Linked DNA regions of Homo sapiens: all the other regions are linked to region 1. Evidence: promoter capture Hi-C in 16 types of primary human blood cells and fetal thymus (Javierre and others, 2016). All regions are on one chromosome and are shown on one strand. The core of a region is centred on a gene start or on the middle of the fragment in contact, and the rest is flanking DNA. Distances in the headings are between cores, read along the strand shown. Region 1 holds the start of CHRNA10 (cholinergic receptor nicotinic alpha 10 subunit). Region 2 has its middle 40 kb from the start of LINC02749. Region 3 overlaps RRM1 (ribonucleotide reductase catalytic subunit M1). Region 4 overlaps STIM1 (stromal interaction molecule 1). Region 5 overlaps STIM1 (stromal interaction molecule 1).

Region 1 (2,740 bases), core at 161-2,660:
AGGCCCTAGTCCCAGGGCCTCTGCTCACACCCTCCACTCCCAGGGCTGGGGCCCTGTCCTTATGAGTGTCCTCCTGGTGTCTGCCTTCTCTTGCTCTAGCTGTGGCTCTAGTTCCTCCCTGGCCTGCCTGCAGGGACACATGAGGTAAAGGCCATGGAGTGAACTGGTACTATCTTCTGGCGCCAGGCTGACAAATTTCTCCTCCACCCTCCCCTTTTCAAGGACCTGGAGTCTGCCTGCCTCTCCACAAATGCTAGAGGGGCCCAAATAAGCCACAAGAGTCCAGACTTTCACCCAGGGATTCTAAACCCCACTGCTCTGCCCCCTCCAGTATCTCTCAAACCTGTTTCCACTTCTCCATCTCGAGCTGGTTTCTTCAAAACTTCTGATGCGATGGAACACTCCCTCACTCTGAAAACACACTTCCCCAGGCTTTACTGACACAAATTTTCCTCAATCCCTGACCTAAACATTGTTCCCATGAATCCTGTCCTTGGCTCCCATCTTTTTCTTCATCCCAGATTTTTCTCCTGAGCTCCAGACCCCAATAGAGTACAGTCCACTCCTGAGTTTCCCACAGGCACCTTCAACTCTGAGGGTCCAAAATATGAACTCGCTTCCTCCCTCCATGCTCTGAAACCTGCTTCCTATCCCATGTTCCCTATCTCAGCAAATAGCATGCCCTCAGCTTCAACAGTGACCTTAGTTGGAAATCTGGGAATTATCCCTCCCTTCTCCCTCTGCTGCCTCCTCCTCGGGGAATCCAGTTAATCTCCAGATCCTGTCAGATCATTCAAATCCTCCAGATTTTGCGAAACATCGTCTTGAGTCTACCCTCTCCCCTCCAGGTCAGGGCCCTCCCTTCACTGTCTCCCTTTCCCCAAAGGCTCACCTTCTTCTACCCCTCCCATGCCCCAGGACCACGCTTTTAAGCATGCACATCTGACCAGGCTAGTATGCTGCTGAAACCTTTCAGTGCTCCCCGTCATCTGCAGGAGAAAGACCTGGCCTGGCCGGCAGGCCCTTCAACATCTGGCCCCTCTGATTTTCCCAGCCCTGTCTCTGGAAGCTCCCCGCTCACTGTTTCCACCCTAGCCAGGCAAGTCTCCTCTCACGCACTTCAGCACCCCTCTCCTCCACACTCCCCAAATAGAGAGCTTGTTCTCAGAACAGGTACTGAGGAGAAACACAAGAGAGACTACATGGAAAGGGATTTTGGGAGAACAGGAATAGTAGCACCACCAGGAGAGGCCAGGGCTGGTGTACTGAGCTTCATACCTGCAGGGAGTAGAAACAGAAGCAGAAGGCCCAGGCTGAGGTGGTGGCTCCGGAGCCCCATGGCCCTGGCACTGCAAGAGCGGGGGCAGGTCTCTGGATGTGAGGCCTCCTGGCCAGACCTAGGGCAAAATTAGGCCCAGCTGGCAAGGATGGTGTGGACAGTACCTAGAAGTCAGAAGTAAGACAGATCTCTGGTGGGTCCAGCCACCCTCCAGCGAGCCCTGCAGCCCCTCCAGTCTTCTGACCCTCCAATTTGTGCCTGCCCCTGGATTTTAGTACTTGGTCTTTCTTCTTCTCTGCTGGTCCTTGCCTCTTCTGGCCTCTGCCTCTGCCCTTTCCTATGCTCCCCACCTGCTTTGTCTTTCACTCTGTTTCTGCTTCCTTCTCTTTCCGTCTGTAACTTTCTTGGTCTCTCTGCCTCCCTGACTCTGATCATCCCCTGCCTGCCTCTTTCCACTCTCTCTCCCTTTCTCCTACTTCTGTTTCATCCCTCATTCCTTCCTTCTTCCATTCCCCACACCTGGACTCTAGATGGGCCTGCTGCTCTCTCAGCAGAACAGGGACCAGGGACTCCTCCCTTGATCAGCCCAGAGTCGTCCGAGGCACAGGACCACAGCCCCTCCCTCTCTGCCCTTTCATTAGCTTAATTACACCGTGCCTATGACAACAGAGCAACGGAAACTGATACCTCGGGCCTCTGGGGCTTGAATTATTCAAACTCTGTAAAGCAGCACACAGACTCAGCTCAGGCCCATCCTCGGGTGTTGGAGAGTACAGGTATGCTGGGTCAGGGTATGTGGAAGACCAGGGCTTAAGAGTGTGAGGGGCCAGGGTCAGTGGATGGATAACTGTCCTCTCATCTTAGCCACCATTGCCTGAATTCTGGAGGTGGAGGTTTGCCTTAGACCTGCAGCTCTCCTTGCAGTGCGGGACTAGACACTCCAGGCTAGGCACTTTGGGTCAAGCAAGCCCTTCCCTCCTGGTGGGAGTAGTGCTGAGCCTCAGGCCACTCCAGATGACCCAGTGGAGCAGAAGATGGAGCCCACATCCTCTCCTCAGACTCCCTGCAGTCATTCCCATCTGAGCCTGTTTTTTCACCTTGCCCAAACACTGTGGGCAGTGTGGGAGAAGAGGGCAAGCATTCAGTCACTTTCGGCCCTGTCTTATGAGCGCTCTCACTTGGGTAAGATATTTAAACTCTCTGGGTTTCTGTTCTCTCAATCTGGTAATGGGATTAACAGTACTCATCTTGAAAACTGCAAGGATTTAAATGAGATAACCTGATAGTGCAAGGCACTGTCTAGCACGGTGCCTAAGGTACAGCAGGTCATCAACAATATTTACACTGTGGTCCCAGTAAGGTAGCCAGGCTATCCTCAGGTCACAGGTATTTATCATGCACAGAGTTTTGATTATTTTTGTTCAAGCTGACCAGTTGCCTGACCAACAGCAGCACATACTT
Region 2 (2,740 bases), core at 139-2,638, 480 kb after region 1:
CTGGTCTGGGTGTGTGTCAGACTGGGGACCCTTGGGCAGGAGCTGACCTGTTTGTGTGGGCTAGACTGGACATCGCAGGGTAAACCTGACCTATGTGCCTGTACAGCTTGGGGATCTCAGGAAAGGACCTCACTTGTGTTTGGGACTGACTGGACTCTAGAACCCAGCCTGCTACCTGGATTAGACTGGAAGCCTCAAGGATGACCTGTGTATTAGGTCTGAATAAACTTCATGTCAAGCTTAGGCTATGTTTGGGAGAGACTGGGCTTCAGGGAAGTGCCCGCCTGTTTATTTGTTTCAGACTGGGTGTTGTTCAGACAGGGCAGGTTGTGGTCTGTATGACTTGCTCTATAAGACTACCTTAGTGAAGCCCCATACATCCAGATATTAGTTGGGACTTCCTCAGGAGTTGGGAGGAGGACAGAGAAAATAAACCAAGAAGGATAAATAGGTAAATGCAATTTTATTACTGGGGGTGAAAACAAAGAGCATTCTAAGAATTTAACAAGCAACAGTTGACCAACAGGGAACCTGCTGTTGAGCCCGTAATCTGCTGAGGAAATTTGAGCCTGTCCCTGAGTACTGCCTGCTTATCTCTTCTCAGAGATCATAGCCCCAACTTTCGAAGGTAGTAAAGTCCCTCACCCTGGCGGTTTCCAGTCTCATGTTCTGCAGCCTCTTTGGCTTCTCCCCAGCCTTCTGGGCTGTTTCCTTTTCACAGAGCATCTTTTCTACATGTTGCTGGATCTCCCTAGTCCTCACCCCATAAATGACAGGATTCAAGGCTCCTGGAAGCAGCAAGTATATGGCACTGAGTAGATTCTGGACATTCTGGGACACAGTCTTGGCTACTCAGAAGGTGATGGAAGTGGAAAGACCAGAGACGTAGATGGAGAGGATGACCAGTAGGTGGGAGCCACACGTGTGTAAGGCCTTGGCTTGGGCTCCCCAAGAAGAGATCCGGAAGGCAGCATAGATGATGTGGGTGTAGGAGGTCCCCAGCAGGGCCATATCAGAGATTACAGTGACCAAACACATAGCCAGCCCCAGCCAGTTGTTGAAGGTCAGGTCTCCACAAGCTATGCTCAGCAGTGCAATGCACTCACAGGTGAAGTGTCGAATCACTGCTGTCCGGCAGAATCGGGCTTTTGCAGTTAGTACTACCAAGGGCACTGTCACTCCCAGGCTCTGTGTCAAGGCAAGAATGGCCAGCAGTCCCAGCAGCTGGGAGGTCATCAGGTCAGAATAGCAGAGTGGGTGGCAGATGGCTACGTAGCAGTCCAGGGCCATGGCCAGAGGAAGTTGTAGTCCAGGAGGAGGGTGAAGTAGATAAAGAACACCTAGGCCAGGCGGCCATGCAGCGATATGGGGTTAGCATAATATACAAAGCCCTCCAGCATTTTAGGCATCACGGCTGTGGCAGCACGAATATTGACAGCCAGGAGCACAGTGATGAGCATACACGTAGGCTGATGCAGATTTTGCCGGGCAACCACTGTGTGGATGACCAGGGCATTGGCAGAGATGATGGTCACAAAGAGGAAGACAAGAGGCAGGACCAGAAGGGGCCACCACTCTCGAAGTCCAGGGAAACCCACCAGGAAGAACTTGGTGCAGGAGATGTTGAAGGTGCTTGTATTTCCATCCTCACCCATTAGCTTTGGCCCTGGGCCGGCACCAAGAGTGGGGATCAGAGACTGTTAGAACAAAATGGTCAATTTTAAAAAGACTTTTTCTGTTGTAGACACTGAGGAATTTGTGATAAAAGCCTACTTCTTCATGTATGTATTCCTTTGGGGCACAGATAAGTACTAAGCCGGGTGTTGTAGGAACTACACAGTTACCTACAATCTTTGTAGGTAACAATCTTTGTCCTCAGGGAGCTCTTGGCCTCATGTGTGTGAAATGTAAATGTAAACTTACAAGATACTTGTTTACTTGTAATGTTCCAGATATTTGCTCAGTAAAAGATTAGGAGGAGAAGTAGGTGTAGTATACACAGGGGAAAAAGAGTGACAGCCAGAGACAAAACAAGAAAGGTTAAAAGAAGACTCTTGATTCAGAGGAAGAGAAAGTATTAGAAGAATCTTTGATCCAAGGAGTCTGGGAAGGCCCAAGTGGGGCTTAACAGGGAGAGAAGAACCAGCCGGGAATGATGGCATCACTTGTGTGCTTGGGACACACTGTGGCAAGGAGAGATGGAAGTTGCTGAGGAAGAATTCTGGTCTTCCTGGATCACAAGAAACAGGCTGCAGAGACTGCTTCCTTCCTAAGTCCTCGTAGATTGGCTGTGGTGCCTGCTGCCTGGCCTTGTCCTCAGTGTCATGGATGATGAGTTTGCTTTCCTTTCAGAATGTAGGTTCCAGGAGGGCAGGGATAATAGCATGCTTCTGGTGGGCTCACTGGAGCTCCAAGCACAGAGTCACCATAGAGGCGCAGGACAGGCTTGAGAATTGCTTGTTGAGTAGGTGCATGAGGAACAGGAAGAAGACAATAGGAGGCTGAACATTTAATTGGGATCTTACAGCAGTTGTTTCAAAGCTTTGGCCAGGGGCCAGGACTGTTCTACATACCTGATACTCCACAAACTAGGCAGCATTCAACAGTCTTCAAGCTTTTTTTTTTTTTTTTTTTAAGAGGTAGGGTCTTGCTATTTTGCCCAGGCTGTTTTTGAACTCCTGGACTCAAGCAGCCCTCTTGCCTCAGCCTCCCAGGCATGAGCCACTGCGCCTGGTCACTT
Region 3 (2,740 bases), core at 126-2,625, 450 kb after region 1:
TTAGTTGGAAGACATCGACATATATTGAGGTAACTATTATGCAAGACAGATTATATTATAGAGGCTAGAGTGACATTTTTAAAATAAAAATCAGATAATGTCATTTGTCTGCACAAAACTACTCTTTGGCTTGCTAACCCATGCAGAATTCCTTTTTTTTCGGGGGGCGTCAAGATTTCACTCTGTTGCCCAAGCTGGGCTGTGGCTCACTGCAACCTCAACAGAGTTCTTTCTTTTTGCAAATTGAGCTATAATTCACTCTTTTTAAAATGTACAATTCAGTGTTTTTTTTCTTTTCTTTTCTTTTCTTTTTTTTAGTATATCTGCAAGTCTGTGCAACCATTACCACTATCTAATTGTAGTATTTATTTATTTTATTTTTTTTTTTTTGAGACAGAGTCTTGCTCTGTCACCAGGCTGGAGTGTAGTGGCTCGATCTCGGCTCACTGCAACCTCCGCCTCCTGGATTCAAGCGATTCTCCTGCCTCAGCCTCCCGAGTAGCTGGGACTACAGGCGCGTGCCACCACACCCAGCTAATTTTTGTATTTTTAGTAGGGACGAGGTTTCACTATGTTGGCCAGGATGGTCTCAATCTCTTGACCTCGTGATCCGCCCACCTCAGCCTCCCAAAGTGTTGGGATTACAGGCGTGAGCCACCGTGACCGGCCTGTAGTACATTTTTATCACTGTAGATAATGAAACCCTTTATCCATTAGCAGTCACTCCCTGTTCCCTTCTTCCCTCAGCCCTTGACAACCACTAATATATTTTCTGTCTCTAGATTTGTGGACATTGTGGACATTCCATAGGAATGGAGTCATATAATATGTGGCCTTTTGTGTCAGGCTTCTTTCACTTAACATGTTCTTTTATTCATGTTGTAGCATGTATCAGTACTTCATTCCTTTCCATCCAGAGTTCTTACAGTGCCCTACAAGGTCCTACACAACTGGATAACCCACCTCATCTGCGGTTACTTTCCCCTTTGTTCACTTTGCTCCAACCCTATTAATTTTCTTGCTTTTTCTCAAACATGTCAACCATGCTCCTACCTCAGGATTTTTGCTCCTTCTTCCCTCTTGAATGTTAAAATGCACCCCCTCTTCCCATAGCCACATGATTTGCTTTCTAACCTGTTCAGTTCTTTGTTCATATGTAACATTTTCAATGAGGTCCTTCTTGACAATTCTGTTTAAAAATTATACCCCCTTCATCTTTATCCCCAGTACTCTCTGTCTTCTTTTCCTGCCTATTTTTCTTCCTGGCATTTATTAGACTTCTGTGATTCAAGCTATATTTAAAAAAATGGGTATTTGGCAACATGTGTAGAATGGAGTAGATGTGAAGGGCATCAAGAGTTCAACTGGGAAACTTTCAGTAGTCCATGTGAGAGAAGTTAAGACTTTGGCTTGGGATAGTCATAATCAAAATGGAAAAGAAAGTGTATTCATTCAACATTATCAAGACTTACTGTGTGCCAGATGTGTTGCTAGTGCTAAACATATAAATATAAATAAGATGATCCTTGTGTGAAGAAGCTCACTGCCTCGTGTAGTGGAGAAATCACTGGAAGAGCTTTTTCAGAAATCACAAATTGAGATCCATTGTTGCTAAGGGCTTGTCAGAATATCAGTGAAGGTGAGGTGGACGTGTGTGTTTTGAAGAACTCTGCAGTGATGGAAATGTTCTGTATCTGATGGCTATTGAGCACTTGAAATATGACTAGTGCAACTGAGAAACTCAAATTTTATTTCATTTTAAATAGATATATGTAGCCAGTGGCTACCATATTGCAGGGCACTCATCTACTGAATAATGAGATAGGTATATGTAAAAAGCTAATTATAACATAGTGTGATATATGTCTGGTAATAGAGCTGTGTACTGTGGAACATAGGGTTCTCTCTCTCTCTTACCTATTTTGCTGATGCATGTTATAACTAACACATATGACTAGGTATTGAAGAAATAGAATCAGTGGGATTTAGAAATGGACTGATGAATGATGAAGAGGGAGAAGTCAAATATAAAAATTTAAAATTTTAATGTCTGAGTATTAGAGGCTCACATGGTGGTGTAATTGACACAGGAAGTAGAAATAAAAATTGTGTGATTCTTGACCTGTTTTTTGCATTCCAGGTTGCTGTTTGTAATTTGGCTTCCCTGGCCCTGAATATGTATGTCACATCAGAACACACATACGACTTTAAGAAGTTGGCTGAAGTCACTAAAGTCGTTGTCCGAAACTTGAATAAAATTATTGATATAAACTACTATCCTGTACCAGAGGTATGAATAGATTTCTCTGCTTATTGGTAATTATTGAAATCCAAATTGAAAGGAATCAATCATGATCTTCAAGTCATCATTTAAATGGTTATCAATAAAATGGTTTGAGAAAAAGAGGTAGTCTGTCTCATTTGGTACAGAATGTTGCTTTTCCTGTTCAGTAATGTTTTCTCCTTTTCTTTAAAATCTGTTGACACAAAGGCATGCCTATCAAATAAACGCCATCGCCCCATTGGAATTGGGGTACAAGGTCTGGCAGATGCTTTTATCCTGATGAGATACCCTTTTGAGAGTGCAGAAGCCCAGTTACTGAATAAGCAGATCTTTGAAACTATTTATTATGGTGCTCTGGAAGCCAGCTGTGACCTTGCCAAGGAGCAGGGCCCATACGAAACCTATGAGGGCTCTCCAGTTAGCAAAGGAGTAAGTATATGGATGGAATTGTTTTTG
Region 4 (2,740 bases), core at 165-2,664, 400 kb after region 1:
TGCATGTGGGGAAGTTAGTAGGATGCAGAAGGCAATAGAGAGTCAAATCAGGTTTTTTTGGTTGTTTTGTTTTCGAGAAGAGGAGAGGTCTATTCAAGACTGTCTTTTAGAAAATGATTCTGGAAGCCTAGGGACTCTAGTTGGGAAGTCTTTGCAGGAATTCATGTAAAAGGAAATGAAGTCTTGTCTTTTCATTTATTTCTATTTATTATTATTATTATTATTTTGACTCTGGGTCTTGCTCTGTTGCCCAGGCTGAAGTTCAATAGCATGAACATGGCTCACTGCAGCCTCCACCCCCTGGGCTCAAGAGATCCTCCTGCTTCAGCCTCCTGTGTAGCTGGGTGCATGCCACCATGCCTGGCTAATTTTTTTATTTTTTGTAGAGACAGGGGTCTTGCTGTGTTGCCCAGGCTTTTCCTGAACTCCTGGACTCAAGAGGTCTACCTCAGCCTCCCAAAGTGCTGGGATTACAGGCCTGAGCCACTGTGCCCAGCCATTGTGTTATTTTTAAATGGTAAACACTATTTAATTTGGAGGGGTAGGGACAAGACTTCTTGTGAGCCAGGTATTGTTAAATACTTAAATGCATTATTACTTTTAATCACTATGGCCCTTTGAAGTAGGTACTATTAGAGTTGGGGAAATGAAGGCTCAGAGAGGGTAAGTGCTTTGTTCAGGGTCATATATCAGTAAGTAGTGAACTAGGAATTTTGACACTCCAGGGTGCTGCCTCTACTGAGGTAGCAGACTTATTGGATTTATTTCCATGGGCTGGGCTTCTAGGGAGCAAGAGGGGTCTGATCTCTAAGCTGATTCCTGGCTACTTTGCTGGGCCCCTTGTTCTTGGGCCCTTTGCCAGTTAGGAGCTAACTGCTGCTGTCTGAGCAGTCCCCATACCTCATTTGTTTGAAAAACATGTACTGTTTCCATTCCAAAGGCAAAAGAATCTAGGCAGGAGACATTCCAAGTTTGGGGATAAAACTAAGCTCCCAGCACTCCCTGCTCCCTAAAGCTTCCAGAGCTAAATGACCACTGTGGCACTTAGAAAGAGACAAAGACACCCCTCCCCTTTTCCCCCTAGAGATAGGCTTGCACACATGCACACATATATCCTCCTCTGAGTGTCCAGAGCCCACATGCCACCTGGTTCCTCCTTGTATTAACAGACCTGCAATGCCAGCTTTCACAGAGCTTTATTACAGAGTTCCTGATAATTTATGTGAATAAATATAATTCTACATATACAGTCCAGTTAGGATTTCATTGAGTTTCAAGATAATTATTTGAGGCAGGCAGGAATTTTGATTCCCAAAACAGGCAAAACTTGCTCATAGTCACACAACTGCTTAGAGCCAGGACTAATTGCAATGCTAATTGTTGTTGCCTTGGAGTGGGGCAGTGCTTAATTGTATACTTATTTGCTCATTTCTACACCCAACAATGATTATTGTTCTCCATCTCTAACAGACCTTATTGGAACTATGAAAGGGTGTCAGTCTTGATTCTACTTTAAAGGAGCTCGCTATTATTATAAAGGACAGACATATCATAGTATTGGCTTTTCTCAAGAGGCTGCTTTCATAAAAGGACAGTATTTCAGTGAAGAAGTGAATCCTTAATGGTGTAACTTTATATAGTTGGGTCATGGAAGAGTACAGTAAAGGAGGATATTCAGCAAGGGAAGGAGATGGCAGGAAATGGCGCCTCTGATTTGTCTTTGCCTATGCATATATCGCCATCTGGTGTTCATTTTCAGGGGGTTCAACTCCCTTTCTCTTCAGGGACAAATTAGGCAGATCACAATTTGCGGGAAGCTTGCAGCCTAACATTTCCTCTTCTTACCTCCTTGCTTGTTCCATGATGTCTTTTGAAGTCTCCGCCACTGATAGCTCTGGACTTAGAGGTTTTTTTTTTTTTTTTTTTTTTACAGATTGAGTTCTGTTTGTTTCATCTACTTAATTATCTCAGTGGTCAGTGTTCTCTAGGGGTCCTTCTTGTTCTGTAGTCTATCCTTTCTTTTCTATACCTCAAGTCTAAGCTATATATCTTATCTCTTCTTCACCATCCTTTCTCCTTCCTAATCTGGTCCCCTGGTAACCTGGTGGTTTTTACTTAGAAAGGAAGACCAGACAGTAAAGTCCGTTTTCTCTTCCAAAGGGATTAGCAAACTCTCAGTCTTTGTTCTGGGTGTAGCCCAAGTCTCTCTTTCTTTCCCTGACTCCTTTCAGGCAGAGCTGATGACTCCATCTTTTGGGAAGACCCAAGACCTTATATATCTATATCTATCTCTTTCTATTATAGAATTTGTCACACTGAATACAGTTATCTGTCTACTTGTCTTTGTTGGAGTAAATCATGAGCTCCTCAGTGGCAGGGAGAGCTTTCTGATTTATCGCCACGTATTTAGGGCTTAGCACAGGGCTTGGCACTTAGTAGGCACTTGAAAGAACTCGGTGAATGAATAGATGAATGAATGAGTGTATTAACATAGATAGCCGTGTGGAGGAAAGAAGTGAAGAAGCGGGAAGGCTTGTTTAGCTGGATGGAAGGTTTTGTCGGTGAACTGAGGGAATGTGTGTGACGGTGCAAGGGTAGACTTACATTATAACTCATGCCCTTGAGATCTTATCCACTAAGGAAGATACTTAGGAAAGGAACTCAGGGCCTGGGGGCAGCAGGGGACTCTCCTGAGTCCTTTGGCATAAATTTAATTTGTTTTGTGCTTCTGGGAACAGAA
Region 5 (2,740 bases), core at 110-2,609, 380 kb after region 1:
AGGAAGAAGAGAGATTAGTCTTGCTGTCTCAGGGGTGGCAGAGGCAGAAAAGATAGAGAAGGTAGGAAGGGAGGTGGGAGAAGCAGGCACACTCAGTATACCTTTTATTGAAAAAAAAATCCATGTATAAAATTCATGTATAAATGGACCCAGGAAGTTAAAACCTGCATTGTTTAAAGGTGAACGGTGTCACTGTAACTATTTTGCATCAACACACTTATAAACACAAATGCAACATGAGCACTGAAGTTGAGAGCCTGTATTCTTATATATCTAGATGATACAGAATAAACTTTTGCTTTTTACTTTTAGCTTATTTCCAAAATATAAATATAGAATCAAAACACTTTAATGGTAAATTGTCTTTTTTTTTTTTTTGAGATGGAGTATTGCTCTGTCACTCAGGCTGGAGTGCAGTGACGCAATCTCGGCTCACTGCAACCTCTGCTTCCCGAGTTCAAGCGATTTTCCTGCCTCAGCCTCCCGAGTAGCTGGGACTACAGGCATGCACCACCACGCCTGGCTAATTTCTGTGTTTTTAATAGAGACGAGGTTTCACCATGTTGGCCAGGATGGTCTTGAACTCTTGAGGTCAGATGATCCACCTGCCTTCGCCTCCCAAAGTGCTGGGATTACAGTCATGAACCACTGCCTGGCCATAAATTATCTTTTTTTATCTGTTTTGCAACAGTCTCACTCCGTCACTCAGGCTAGAGTGCAGTGGCGTGATCATGGCTCTCTGCAGGCTCAATCTCCCAGGCTCAAGTGATCCTCCCACCTCAGCCTCCTGAGGAGCTGGGACTCTAGGTGTGCACCACCACACCTGGCTAATTGTCCCTGTTTGCAGATGACATGATTGTATGTTTAGAAAACCCCATCGTCTCAGCCCAAAATCTCCTTAAGCTGATAAGCAACTTCAGCAAAGTCTCAGGATACAAAATCAATGTGCAAAAATCATAAGCATTCCTATACATCAAGAACAGACAAACAGAGAGCCAAATCATGAGTGAACTCCCATTCACAATTGCTTCAAAGAGAATAAAATACCTAGGAATCCAACTTACAAGGGATGTGAAGCACCTCTTCAAGGAGAACTACAAACCACTGCTCAATGAGATAAAAGAGGACACAAACAAATGGAAGAACATTCCATGCTCATGGATAGGAAAAATCAATATCGTGAAAATGGCCATATTGCCCAAGGTAATTTATAGATTCAGTGCCATGCCCATCAAGCTACCAATGAATTTTTTCACAGAATTGGAAAAAACTACTTTAAAGTTCATATGGAACCAAAAAAGAGCCTAAGCCAAAAGAACAAAGCTGGAGGCATCATGCTACCTGACTTCAAACTATACTACAAGGCTACAGTAACCAAAACAGCATGGTACCGGTACCAAAACAGAGATCTAGACCAATGGAGCAGAACAGAGCCCTCAGAAATAATACCACACATCTGTAACCATCTGATCTTTGACAAACCTGACAAAAACAAGAAATGGGGAAAGGATTCCCTATTTAATAAATGGTGTTGGGAAAACTGGCTAGCCATATGTAGAAAGCTGAAACTGGATCCCTTCCTTACACCTTATACAAAAATTAATTCAAGATGGATTAAAAACTTACATGTTAGACCTAAAACCATGAAAACCCTAGAAGAAAACCTAGGCAATACCATTCAGGACATAGGCATGGGCAAGGACTTCATGTCTAAAACACCAAAAGCAATGGCAACAAAAGCCAAAATGGACAAATGGAGTCTAATTAAACTAAAGAGCTTCTGCTCAGCAGAAGAAACTACCATCAGAGTGAACAGGCAACCTACAGAATGGGAGAAAAGTTTTGCAATATACTCATCTGACAAAGGGCTAATATCCAGAATCTACAAAGAACTCAAACAAAGTTACAAGAAAAAACCCCATCAAAAAGTAGGCGAAGGATATGAACAGACACTTCTCAAAAGAAGACATTTATGCAGCCAACAGACACATGGAAAAATGCTCATCGTCACTGGCCATCAGAGAAATGCAAATCAAAACCGCAATGAGATACCATCTCACACCAGTTAGAATGGTGATCATTAAAAAGTCAGGAAACAACAGGTGCTGGAGAGGACGTGGAGAAATAGGAACCCTTTTACACTGTTGGTGGGACTGTAAACTAGTTTAACCATTGTGGAAGACAGTGTGGTGATTCCTCAAGGATCTAGAACTAGAAATACCATTTGACCCAGCCATCCCATTACTGGGTATATACCCAAAGGATTATAAATCATGCTGCTATAAAGACACATGCACACGTGTGTTTATTGCAGCACTATTCAAAATAGCAAAGACTTGGAACCAACCCAAATGTCCATCAACGATAGATTGGATTAAGAAGATGTGGCACATATACACCATGGAATACTATGCAGCCATAAAAAAGGATGAATTCATGTCCTTTGTAGGGACATGGATGAAGCTGGAAACCATCATTCTCAGCAAAATATCGCAAGAACAAAAAACCAAACACCGCATGTTCTCACTCATAGGTGGGAATTGAACAGTGAGAACACTTGGACACAGGAAGGGGAACATCACACACTGAGGCCTGTTGTGGGGTGGGGGGAAGGGGGAGAGATAGCATTAGGAGATATACCTAATGTAAATGACAAGTTAATGGGTGCAGCACACCAACATGGCACATGTATAGATATGTAAAAAACCTGCACATTGTGCACATGTACCCTAGAACTTAA

The links. The method cuts DNA at HindIII sites, captures the fragments that hold promoters and counts their contacts. A CHiCAGO score of 5 or more calls a contact.
Region 2: a fragment that was not itself captured here is called in contact with the fragment with the promoter of CHRNA10 in region 1 in 2 of 17 cell types (total B cells and total CD4 T cells); the score reaches 6.5 in total B cells.
Region 3: a contact is called between a fragment that was not itself captured here and the fragment with the promoter of CHRNA10 in region 1, in 2 of 17 cell types (non-activated CD4 T cells and total CD8 T cells). The highest score is 6.0, in non-activated CD4 T cells.
Region 4: a fragment that was not itself captured here is called in contact with the fragment with the promoter of CHRNA10 in region 1 in 2 of 17 cell types (activated CD4 T cells and non-activated CD4 T cells); the score reaches 8.6 in activated CD4 T cells.
Region 5: a contact is called between a fragment that was not itself captured here and the fragment with the promoter of CHRNA10 in region 1, in 1 of 17 cell types (total B cells). The highest score is 5.1, in total B cells.

Annotation. Positions count from the first base shown.
Region 1 is chr11:3,669,974-3,672,713 of GRCh38, forward strand. CHRNA10 (cholinergic receptor nicotinic alpha 10 subunit) reads right to left here and starts at 1,411. Exons shown (of 5, transcript NM_020402.4): 1 at 1,279-1,411. The coding sequence starts at 1,339. The HindIII fragment of the contact is 7,798 bases long and covers 1-2,740 here.
Region 2 is chr11:4,145,641-4,148,380 of GRCh38, forward strand. It overlaps the pseudogene OR55B1P. Among named protein-coding and RNA genes, the nearest start is that of LINC02749, 40 kb to the right of the region's middle. The HindIII fragment of the contact is 2,302 bases long and covers 238-2,539 here.
Region 3 is chr11:4,124,544-4,127,283 of GRCh38, forward strand. RRM1 (ribonucleotide reductase catalytic subunit M1) reads left to right here. Exons shown (of 19, transcript NM_001033.5): 13 at 2,141-2,290; 14 at 2,492-2,713. Among named protein-coding and RNA genes, the nearest start is that of RRM1, 31 kb to the left of the region's middle. The HindIII fragment of the contact is 4,129 bases long and covers 1-2,740 here.
Region 4 is chr11:4,071,142-4,073,881 of GRCh38, forward strand. All of the region lies in intron 6 of STIM1 (stromal interaction molecule 1), which reads left to right. Among named protein-coding and RNA genes, the nearest start is that of RRM1, 22 kb to the right of the region's middle. RefSeq lists an enhancer at 1,578-1,872. The HindIII fragment of the contact is 802 bases long and covers 1,014-1,815 here.
Region 5 is chr11:4,050,983-4,053,722 of GRCh38, forward strand. The region is part of intron 3 of STIM1 (stromal interaction molecule 1); the gene reads left to right. Among named protein-coding and RNA genes, the nearest start is that of RRM1, 42 kb to the right of the region's middle. The HindIII fragment of the contact is 4,973 bases long and covers 1-2,740 here.